2 separate regions of the Homo sapiens genome follow, and region 1 is linked to region 2. Evidence: promoter capture Hi-C in human tissues and cell types (Jung and others, 2019). All regions are on one chromosome and are shown on one strand. Each heading gives the region's core, a stretch centred on a gene start or on the middle of the fragment in contact. The rest is flanking DNA. Distances are from core to core; before and after follow the strand shown. Region 1 overlaps ZER1 (zyg-11 related cell cycle regulator). Region 2 holds the start of ODF2 (outer dense fiber of sperm tails 2).

Region 1 (4,873 bases), core at 2,339-4,838, 270 kb before region 2:
GTGGTAAAATACATTCTAGAGATAAGATGAGGCAGAGTGCGAGTGAGTTTGCTGAATGTGAAGATCACAAACATGGTGGAGTCTCGGCCTTCCGTGGCTCTGTGGCTTTCACTGCAGCATCTAAAATGTCACCGCCTCCAGTTCTCGAGTTGATCAGGACACGAGAGACTCTCAGGGATGCGACGTGTCGAAATCGTCGAACGACCTTGTTTTCTCCAGGATTCATTCTAGAAGGGAGAACAGTCAAGCTGACCCGAGCACACTTTTTCATGGCTCTGTATAGAGCAAAAGTTCACATGGAGGAGGGGCCTGAAACTCAGAGGCTCCTCAGCCAGCCACTTCCTGGGCCAGGGGAGGGAAGTGTCAGCTGGTTCTGCTATTATATCTGGCCAAAGGCGCTACTGGCCAGGCGAAGTGGCTCACACCTGTAATCCTAGCACTTTGGGAGGCTGAGGTGGGTGCATCACTTGAGGTCAGGAGTTCGAGACCTGGCTAACATGGTAAAACCCCGTCTCTACTAAAAATACAAAAATTAGCTCGGCGTGGTGGTACGTGCCTGTAATCCCAGCCACTTGGGAGGCTGAGGCAGGAGAATCACTTGAATCCAGGAGGCAGAGGTTGCAGTGAGCCGAGATGGTGCCACTGCACTCCAGCCTGGTCAACAGAGCGAGACTCTGTCTCAAAAAAATAAAATTTAAAAATAAATGGACGGGGCCCACCCCTAGGTTTTCTTTTCCAGTACATCCGGGAGGTGGGAGGTGGCCCTGGAATTTTCATGGTTAACAAGGATTCCCGGGAAATTTGAGAAGCACTGGGTAAGACTGACCAGTTACCTACCACAGTCACTTTGAACATTTCTCCAAGGCCTGTGATGGGAATCTGAGGCACTGGCCTGTCTGACAGCAAGGAGTAAATGACCCTGGACAATGCTTAGGAGAAGGCCCTCGGCCTGTCCACTGACCTCTCTCCCACTCTGGGTATTTGTTTCCTAAAAGGTATTGGGGCATCCCTTTAACACACAGAGGCTGCAGTGAAGCCCCCAAACCACAGGCTTGGTGTTGAATGGGCAAGCTGTCCGGGGTCCAAGGTGACAACCAACAGTGATGGGTGGCAGGGGTCAGGCTGGGGCGGGCGAGACTCGAAATCTGAGCTGGAGTGCTGAGCCCTGGCTGCCACAGGGTAGTGGGGGCCCTTGTGCGAGCACAGCTGCCCCTGCCCGACCCTGGACCTGCCACTGGATCCGGGCCTCTAGGGGAATCTGATGTGCAGTCAGTTTGGGGACCACTGGTGGACTTCTGGAAAGAGAAGGGTCTAGTGTGCAGGGAAAATGAAGAAGAGGTCGCTAAAGAAACTTCCAAAGGGTTTTGGAGGTCGGGCCTGAGCTGATTTGGGGACCCCCTATCCACAGATGCCCTGGGACTGGGGGTGGGAGAAGAGGGGCATGGAAAGGAAGGAAGCGGAGGATGGCTGGTGATGGCATTCACGGCCACAGGTGCCATTCCCTGAGTCCCCTGCACATGCCAGCCACTCTGCCAGCCCCTCTGTCCACATCATTCGGTCAGCATCACCATCACTATGAACACGTGTTTACCCAGCTGCCTAATGATCTCGGAGGGGCTGGGCTCACCCCCACCCAAGCCCACCCTCCAATCCTGTCTCCCCCATTGTCTCCAGCAAGGTGATTGAGCACTGCAGTAACTTTAAAGAGGAGAACATGGACACGTCTAGATAGAGGCCTCCGTCCCCATGGCCGCCACCGCTCTGGACCACAGGCGGGGAGGAAGCATGCTCAAGCAGCCCAGCGGGCGGGCCCCTTCCGAGGGAGCCTCCCACGGAGTGAAGAGACATGGGGGACTTTTGCACAACCGACGCTTTTCCTTAATGTTAGTGAGATATATATATATTATATATATATATTTTTTTTTTGGTTAGGAAGTGTGAAGTTTTGTGTGTATGATTTCTGTGCAAAAACAAAAGCAACACTCCTGAGTCCTTGCAGCTTCCTTGGCCATTCTCAAACCCACTCAGCCTTCATCGCTGACACACACACTCCTACCCCAACCAGACTAAATGCCTATAACGCTGTGAGTGTCCAGTCCTTGTCCAGGAAACTCAGATCCCGGCCTGGCTTCCTTTCATGAGAGGAGCAGGCCTTGGACAGCGTATCGAGCATCCTGACCCACTGCCCCTGCCTGAGAACGCCATCTCGGCTCCCGGGCACAGCTGATGGGGTTTGGGGATTAGAACTTACCCCACTGGGTCTCCCAAAAGCCTTGGTGCTCCCGGCTGTGGGCCATCTGGGGCAGGAAAGTGAGCCATTCCTAGGCTGAGGTCCAGGCAGCCCTGCCCCTGAAGACCCTCTAGGAGCAGGGCACCCAGTGGCCCTGCTGCTGTCCAGCCAGGCCTGCCTGAGGCCACGCTGCTATGGAGGCTGCCTCCTAGTCTCCCACCAGGTCCCAGGCTGTGGAAAGCCCCAGCCCAGGGATGGTCAGAACTCAGGGGCAGATTCCACTGCCCCTTCTGCCAAACACATCCAGAACCTGCCCTCAGCCCTGGAAGCTAGCATCTTCTGGGGCCAGGGGCTTGCTTCCTCGCTCCATAGCCCTCAACTGCCCAGGCGCTCCCACCAGCAGAACTGAGCCTGCCTCCTCCTCCCAGCCTGCCCCGCTGCCCAGAGGACCCCACGCCTCTCAGAGGCAGAGGTCCCATGACAGCCTTTGACCCACAACGGCCACACAGCCGCCTCCAGACCAGCACTCGGACTGCCCTGCAGTGGCCGCTTGGGCCTCCCTGGCGGTCCCGCCCTGCCCTAGGCTTTACCTTGGAAGCCTGAGAGGCGCCGGCTCTCTTGCTCCTCCATCGATGGACACTGCATTGCTTCTCATCGGACACTTGTGGAGCGCAGGGGCCTGGGGAGCAGCGCTAACCCTGGAGGCAGCCTTTGGGTGATGGCTTTTTCTTCCCTTTTCCTCCCGCGGGCCTGTTTTCAGGTGTTCCTAGCATTTCTGCCTCCAGGCAGGACGGCAGGGGTGAGCAGCTTTGGGAGAGACACCTGGCCTTTTTCTCCTGGAGCCTCTCCCTCCCGGCCCTGGGAAGTGGGCGCAGCCCTGTGTTCCCCCAGCTTGGCAGATGGGCTGCATGCGGCGCTCCCTTCCTTCCCACGCTCAGCGGCCCCGGCCAGACCCTGGCAGACTTCACACCTCATTGCTTTACCCCCTGGGGCCTGGGGAAATGTCTGTACTTTGGGAAGTCACAGAAATACATTTTTGTGCAAAATGGAAAACAGAGCGTCTTTTTTTGTGGAGGGGATTGCTAGCCTGGCTTCCAGGCTCTGGAGCAGGGCTTGAGCCACCCCTGGCAGGGGGGCTGCAGTGTAGGTAGTTCTGTGGTAGGGAGGGGTGCGTTTGGTGGGTTAAAGGGCTGCAGGCTGGGGACAGGTGGCAGGGGACTGAGCTGGAGTACCTGTTTCCTATGTGTTCTCTTCACATCCCTGTGCCCACTGAGGACACAGCTGGCAACCAGACCAACAGGGTGCCTGCCTAAGATGGCTCAGCCTGATGGGGGAGACAGATGGCAAATAGAAGATTACAACTCTGTGCCACCATCAGGGAGAAGGCAGCGGAGGAGGTGCCTCCTGCCAGTGGATGGGAGTGGGCAGGCGGATCAGGGAAGCTTGGAGTCCGCTGGGCCACAGTGCTTTGGGGAGAGGGGGAGGAGCCAGCACGATGTCCCCATGTGTCTGGGAGGCTTCTTACAAGAGGACAGAGTGGAGCCAAACCCAGGGAAAAGAAGGAGGTTGCCCAGGCCTGGCCCGAGGGGCTGAGGAAAAGTGCATCCTCAGCAGAGGGTCCCGCCAGGGTGGACAGAGAAGCAGCCCCATGTGGCCCTGGCAGCGTGAGGAACAAGGGTAGAGTGGGAGGGGACCAGGAAGTCGCTGGTGCCAAATTGTGAGGTGCCCAGACTCTAGCATGGCCCAGGGCCGTCCTGGCTGACACCTGTGGTCCCCGCACGTCTATCAACAGTGCCTTGTCATCCTTAAGAGCTGCCTGGTTGGAATAAGAAATGATATGGTGGGCTGGGTGCGGTGGCTCACGCCTGTAATCCCAGCACTTTGGGAGGCCGAGGTGGATCACGAGGTCAGGCGATCAAGACCATCCTGGCTAACATGGTGAAACCCCGTCTCTACTAAAAGATACAAAAAAATTAGCTGCGCTAGGCGGCCGGCACCGGTAGTCCTAGCTACTTGAGAGGCTGAGACAGGAGAATGGTGTGAACCCAGGAGGCAGAGCTTGCAGTGAGCACAGATGGTGCCACTGCACTCCAGCCTGGGTGACAGAGCGAGACTCCGTCTCAAAAAACAAAAAAGAAATGATACGGTCACACCCTTTATAGGCCACCGTGAGTGTGTGGATTTTACCCTTTATGTGAGGTTTTAAGCCTGGGCATCAGGACCCAATTAAGCATTTCTGGAAGCTGAGCACTGACTCCTCCCACAGCCTCTGTGAAGCCGAGGTCCCCTCTTCTCCACCCCCTGCAGGGCCTGGACCTGGCCTCTCTCTCCCCTGGCTGACAGCCCCCTGCCACTGGCCACCCACAGGACCTGGGCAGGAAGGGCATCAAGTGGTTTGCCTCAGAACCCTGGTGGGTCGTCTGTGCCTCGGAGGGAATGAGGGCAGTGCCTGCCAGCAGCAGCCAACACTGCTGAACCTTATTCTGTGTCCCAGGCCCCGGGCTAAGTGCTTCATGTACCTTCCGCTTCCTCAGAACCCTGGCAATAATCCATTTCACAGACAAGGACACTGAGGCTCAGAGAGGTGAAGTGACTTTACTTTTTATTTTTTTCAGACAAGGTCTCACTGTTGCCCAGGCTGAG
Region 2 (4,729 bases), core at 1,365-3,864:
ATCTGCAAAGACAGCCAAATAAAAAAAAAAAAAAGAGAGAGAGCAAAAGTCTATTTGCTCCAAAATCTTTCAGCAGTATATCCAAAAAGTCCAGGATGGGAAGGGCCTTGGAATAACCATCTGATCCATCTCCTGGCCTTTTTTTTTTTTTTTTTTTTGAGATAGAGTCTCGCTCTGTCGCCCAGGCTGGAGTGCAGTGGCCCAATCTTGGCTTACTGCAACCTCTGCCTCCTGGCTTCAAGCAATTCTCCAATTCTCCTGCCCCAGGCTCCTGAGTAGCTGGGATTACAGGCGTGTGCCACCATGCCCAGCTAATTTTTTATGTTTCTAGTAAAGACGGGGTTTCACCATGTTGGTCAGGCTGGTCTCAAACTCCTGACCTCAGGTGATCCACCCACCTTGGCCTCTCAAAGTGCTAGGATTGCACAGGCATGAGCCACCGCACCTGGCCCCCCAAAGTGGGGGGAGATCAGAGAGGCTGGAGCGACCAGGGGGTGGCAGGGAGGGTGGGGCAGAGACAGGGAGGTCCAAAATTATCATCTTGCCCTCTTTACAAACACTTGGGGAAAATAATGCAACATCAAAATGCAAGGAAAAAAATACTTGAGCACTTTGGTATGCGTTTTGCTGTATATGTATTACATCGTGATTTTAAAAAGAGGGGAAAAAAAAAAAATATATATATATATATAGACCTCTACTGATCCTTTAGCCAAGGAATACCAAAACTGAGAAGACAGGCTTTTTTCCCTAATCATTTAGAACATTGTTCACGTAAAGCCAATAGCTTTGGGAAATCTCTCAGTGGGTTTCTTGTCAAACCACCTGGATTCCATTATCTTGCTAACTGCCACATCCACCTCCTACGTGTTATTTATTTACACCTCGACTCCCTTCAAAAAGGCTCTGAACCTAGTACTCTATTATATAAAGACAACAAGAGTGACCCTGTTTGCTTCCAGGAAGCTGTGACATCTGGGGAGGGAAGGAGCGAGGGAGGTAGAGCTAGGATTGTGTATACATTTCGTTCCCCCTTCCCTTTAAAAACGATTTTTAAACGTTTTGGTCCAGACTTTCAGCAAACACAATGAGGAAGCTGGAAGCCTCAGGCGAGCCTGCCCTGGGGACCCCTGGCCACCTTTCCCTGCCCTCCGGCGCAGGCGCCTCCCACATCGGCAATACCTGGGGGAGCCGCCTGAGGATGAGGCAGACATGGCTAGGCATCAAAGCCGCAAAGGTGGGCAATTGGGTCAGCAGGCTCTGCTCAGGGGGACCCAGAGGGGCAGGCTTGTCAATGAGCCTCTCAAGGGGCCCGGCATCAAACGTCCTCTCTGAGGGGAGAAGGGTGGAAGCTTTGGGGTTGGCAGTTGGATGAAAACTTGGGAGGCGCTCCTCTACTGTCCAAGTCGCACAGCAACTGTCCTGCCAAAGTAGGGGGAAATAGTAGAGGCTGAGCGACCTGGGGGCAGAGGGGAGGAAGGGGAGGGGACGGGGCAGAACCGCGAGGGAAAGGACCACCGCGCCCGGGTCCCACGCGGAGGACTGCCGGTGGCTACCGGGGGAAACCTGAGGCGCCGGCGGACGTGCGGAGAGGGCGGGTGAGAACCGCTCGGCCCCAAGTGGGCCCCAGAGGGCCAGAACCGCGCAGGGAGCCGCGGGGATGCTGGGGCGGGGCCGGACAACTGTCTCCTAGGAGAAGGGGCGTTACGGAAGAACAGATGCCCGAGAGGACCAATAGTGTTTAAAGGAGGGAGGCGCGGAGGTTGCACGGGCCCCGGGCGCCCCGCCGCGAGGGAAAACCGAACAGAGTTCTGAGCAGGATAGACGCCGGGCTGGGAGGGGGCGGGCGGGACCCCCCCCCGCCGGGCGAGGGCCCTGGCAAGCCGGAGACGGTGCCCGGGGGACAGCGCTGCCTACGGAGGGCGTACAAGTGACTGCCATGTGGAGGCCCGAGGAGAGGACGAGGCGGTCGGGGCGATGCCGCCGACGGGCAGCAGAGCGAGGGAGAGCCTCTGTCGGCGGAGAGAAGGGACGGCCACCCACCAGCAGGCAGGAGGGTACCGGTTTCTGCCCATAGAGAGAAAGGTGAAGCCCTGCCCGCGGGCGGCAGAGGAGGGGCAGAGCCCCGTGGTAGCCAAGAGAGGAAGGAGGCGGCCGACCGCCCGTTAGCGGGAGGAGGAGAGGCCCCGCGCCGGTGGGCGGGGCGGGGGCCCAGGTTCTGACAGGAGGGGGACGAGCGCAACGCGGCGGGGAACCCAGGACCCGACGGCCCCGCGGGGTCGACCGCGCCGGGGGTGCGAAGGCGACGGTCTCGCCCGCGGTGCCCCGGAGGGCGCTGGATCCCGCCTGCCGGCGGCCTCTCACCAGGAGCGACACGGCTGCGCCCAGAAACGCCGCCTTATGAAGTCGTTGAAGTCGGAGGCCAGGGTCGTGCCATGGAGACGCCGCGGCGGATGCAGTCTGGCTCTGGCAGCGGCTCCTCCCCGCTTCCGCCTCCTTTTCCGACACCCGGTCGGCAGCTCGCCCATTGGCCAGTTCAAACCCCCCCGGGAGCCGCTTGGGTTTCGCCATCGAGGCCCAGCCCCTAGCGTCACAGAGATGCCCCGCCCCGCCAGAAGGGCCGCCCACTTCCGGGCCACGCGTCCCGTCACCAAGGAGACGTGCTACGCGTCCAGCGGGCCTGGCCGGGTCTCGCCCCCCATTCAAGGCCTTTCCCGCTCGGCCCTGTTTCCCCTGCCTTGGATCCTCCCGGATTCCCCTCACTCAAAGGAGCGTACGGTTCCGACGCCCTCCCCTCGGTACCCACCAGGAAACTAGGCTCACAGAGGACCCATGGAACTAGTTATTGGGAGCTGCACACTGCCTCCGAAAATCCAGCCCTGCCCCTAGTCCACTATTAATGCGGAGATGGAGTCGGCTTCTGCGCATTCCCCGGCCTCTCCCCTGCCCACATCGCCTCTGTCTTGGCCCCAACAGGAGAAAGGGTCGGCATTCCCCTTGCTGTTCTGTTCACTACCTTCCTGCACTTTTTTTTTTTTTTTTTTTTTTTTTTTTTTTTTTTTTTTTGAGACAGATTCTTGCTCTGTTGCCCAGGCTGGAGTGCAGTGGCGCGATCTCGGCTCACCGCAACCTCCGCCTCCCGGGTTCACGCCATTCTCCTGCCTGAGCCTCCCGAGTAACTGGGACTACTGGCGCCCGCCACAACGCCCGGCTAATTTTTTTTTGTATTTTTAGTAGAGACGGGGTTTCACCGTGTTGGGCAGGATAGTCTCCATCTCCTGACCTCATGATCCACCCGCCTCGGCCTTCCAAAGTGCTTGTATTACAGGCTTGAGCCTCCGCGCCCGGTCTACTACCCTCCTGCACTCTCTATGCCGCTCTGTGTACAGACCTATTCTGATGAGGTCCTTGCTGGTCCGCCATCTTCTCAATTATGCTTCACTGTCAGCCAGTCAGGGGAGGTCTGTCACGTGGCTCATAATGCCGCCCTGGAATCTGGGAGACCTGAACCACCTCCGGGCCAACTGGGCCACAGTCCCTTGACCTTTCTCCAGTGACCCCGCAGCACCTTAGCCACACAGCTCCAGGGTCACACAAGTGTTTCACCTGCAATCCTAAAGTCAGACTCGCAAACAAAACCTGCTTTTCCGCCTCGCTTTCACAGTATACTGCATACTGAATTTGTTCTGTAATGTCAGGGAGCTCCCCAATCCCTTGATCCATTCATTGTCTCTCTGTTGAATAATTGATAGATTTCCTAATCCTCATTAACCATTTAAGACTGCGGTGGCTCACGCCTGTAGTCCCAGCACTTTGGGAGGCTGAGGCAGGCGGATCACCTAAGGTCAGAAGTTCAAGACCAGACTGCCCAACATAGCGAAACCCCGTCTCTACTAAAAATACAAAAATTAACCGGGCATGGTGGTGTGTGCCTGTAATCCCAGCTACTAGGGAGGAGGAGGCAGGGAGAATTCCTTGAACCTGGAAGGCGGAGGTTGCAGTGAGCCAAAATCACCACTACACTTCAGCCTGGGTGACAGAGTGAGACTCTTGTCTCAAAAAAAAAAAAAAAAAAAAAAAAGTATATACAGGTTCAAGGAAAAGAGGACAGGAAAAGGAGGTCCCGGTCCTCCTGGGGCAGGCAGGAGATGGTTCCCAGAGGTGATGGTATTGGAACTGAGCCATGAAAGGTGAGTGGAAGTTCGCCAAACAAGCAGCAAAGGGAATTCTAAACAGACTGCAGTAGGTACACAGGTACCACATGCAGGTACAAGAGAATACTGCATATTCTATGAAGCATCATCACTGCAGTCCCTTGAAGTGTTACAGGGCCAGCGATGAGAGAAATCCTGCCAAAGTCAGCAGGACCAGACTATGCAGCGTCTGATAGGCCAGCCTAAGGTGTTGGACTTCATCCCTCAGAAGCCTGGAAAACCATGAGAGGGTTTTCAGTATTTCACTCTAGGCTGGGCGCTGTGGCTCACACCTGTAATCCCAGCACTTTGGGAGGCCGAGGCAGGTTGATCACTTGAGGTCAAGAATTTGAGACCAGCCTGGCCAACGTGGTGAAACCCCGTCTCTACTAAAAGTACAAAAATTAGCTGGGCGTGGCAGCCGGCGACTATAGTCCCAGCTACTCAGGAGGCTGAGGCAGGAGAATCACTTAAACCCAGGAGGTAGAGGTTACAGTGAGCCAAGATTGCACCACTGCACTCCAGCCTGGGCGACA

The links. The method cuts DNA at HindIII sites, captures the fragments that hold promoters and counts their contacts. A contact is called where the count stands out against the background at its distance.
Region 1: a contact is called between a fragment that was not itself captured here and the fragment with the promoter of ODF2 in region 2, in 1 of the 25 tissues and cell types used here (dorsolateral prefrontal cortex).

The regions. Positions count from the first base shown.
Region 1 is chr9:128,728,196-128,733,068 of GRCh38, reverse strand. ZER1 (zyg-11 related cell cycle regulator) reads left to right here. Exons shown (of 16, transcript NM_006336.4): 16 at 1,675-3,283. The coding sequence ends at 1,732. ZDHHC12-DT (ZDHHC12 divergent transcript) reads right to left here. Exons shown (of 2, transcript NR_046240.1): 2 at 1-227. Among named protein-coding and RNA genes, the nearest start is that of ZDHHC12-DT, 6.2 kb to the right of the region's middle. RefSeq lists enhancers at 1-375, 376-876, 2,670-3,501, 3,502-4,333. The HindIII fragment of the contact is 3,622 bases long and covers 1,778-4,873 here.
Region 2 is chr9:128,453,891-128,458,619 of GRCh38, reverse strand. ODF2 (outer dense fiber of sperm tails 2) reads right to left here and starts at 2,614. Exons shown (of 21, transcript NM_001351578.2): 1 at 2,365-2,614. The coding sequence starts at 2,528. RefSeq lists enhancers at 1,333-2,068, 2,662-2,711, 2,069-2,804, 2,842-2,931, 2,805-3,541 and 1 more and silencers at 1,462-1,511, 1,722-1,871, 1,902-2,001, 2,132-2,441. The HindIII fragment of the contact is 20,941 bases long and covers 1-4,729 here.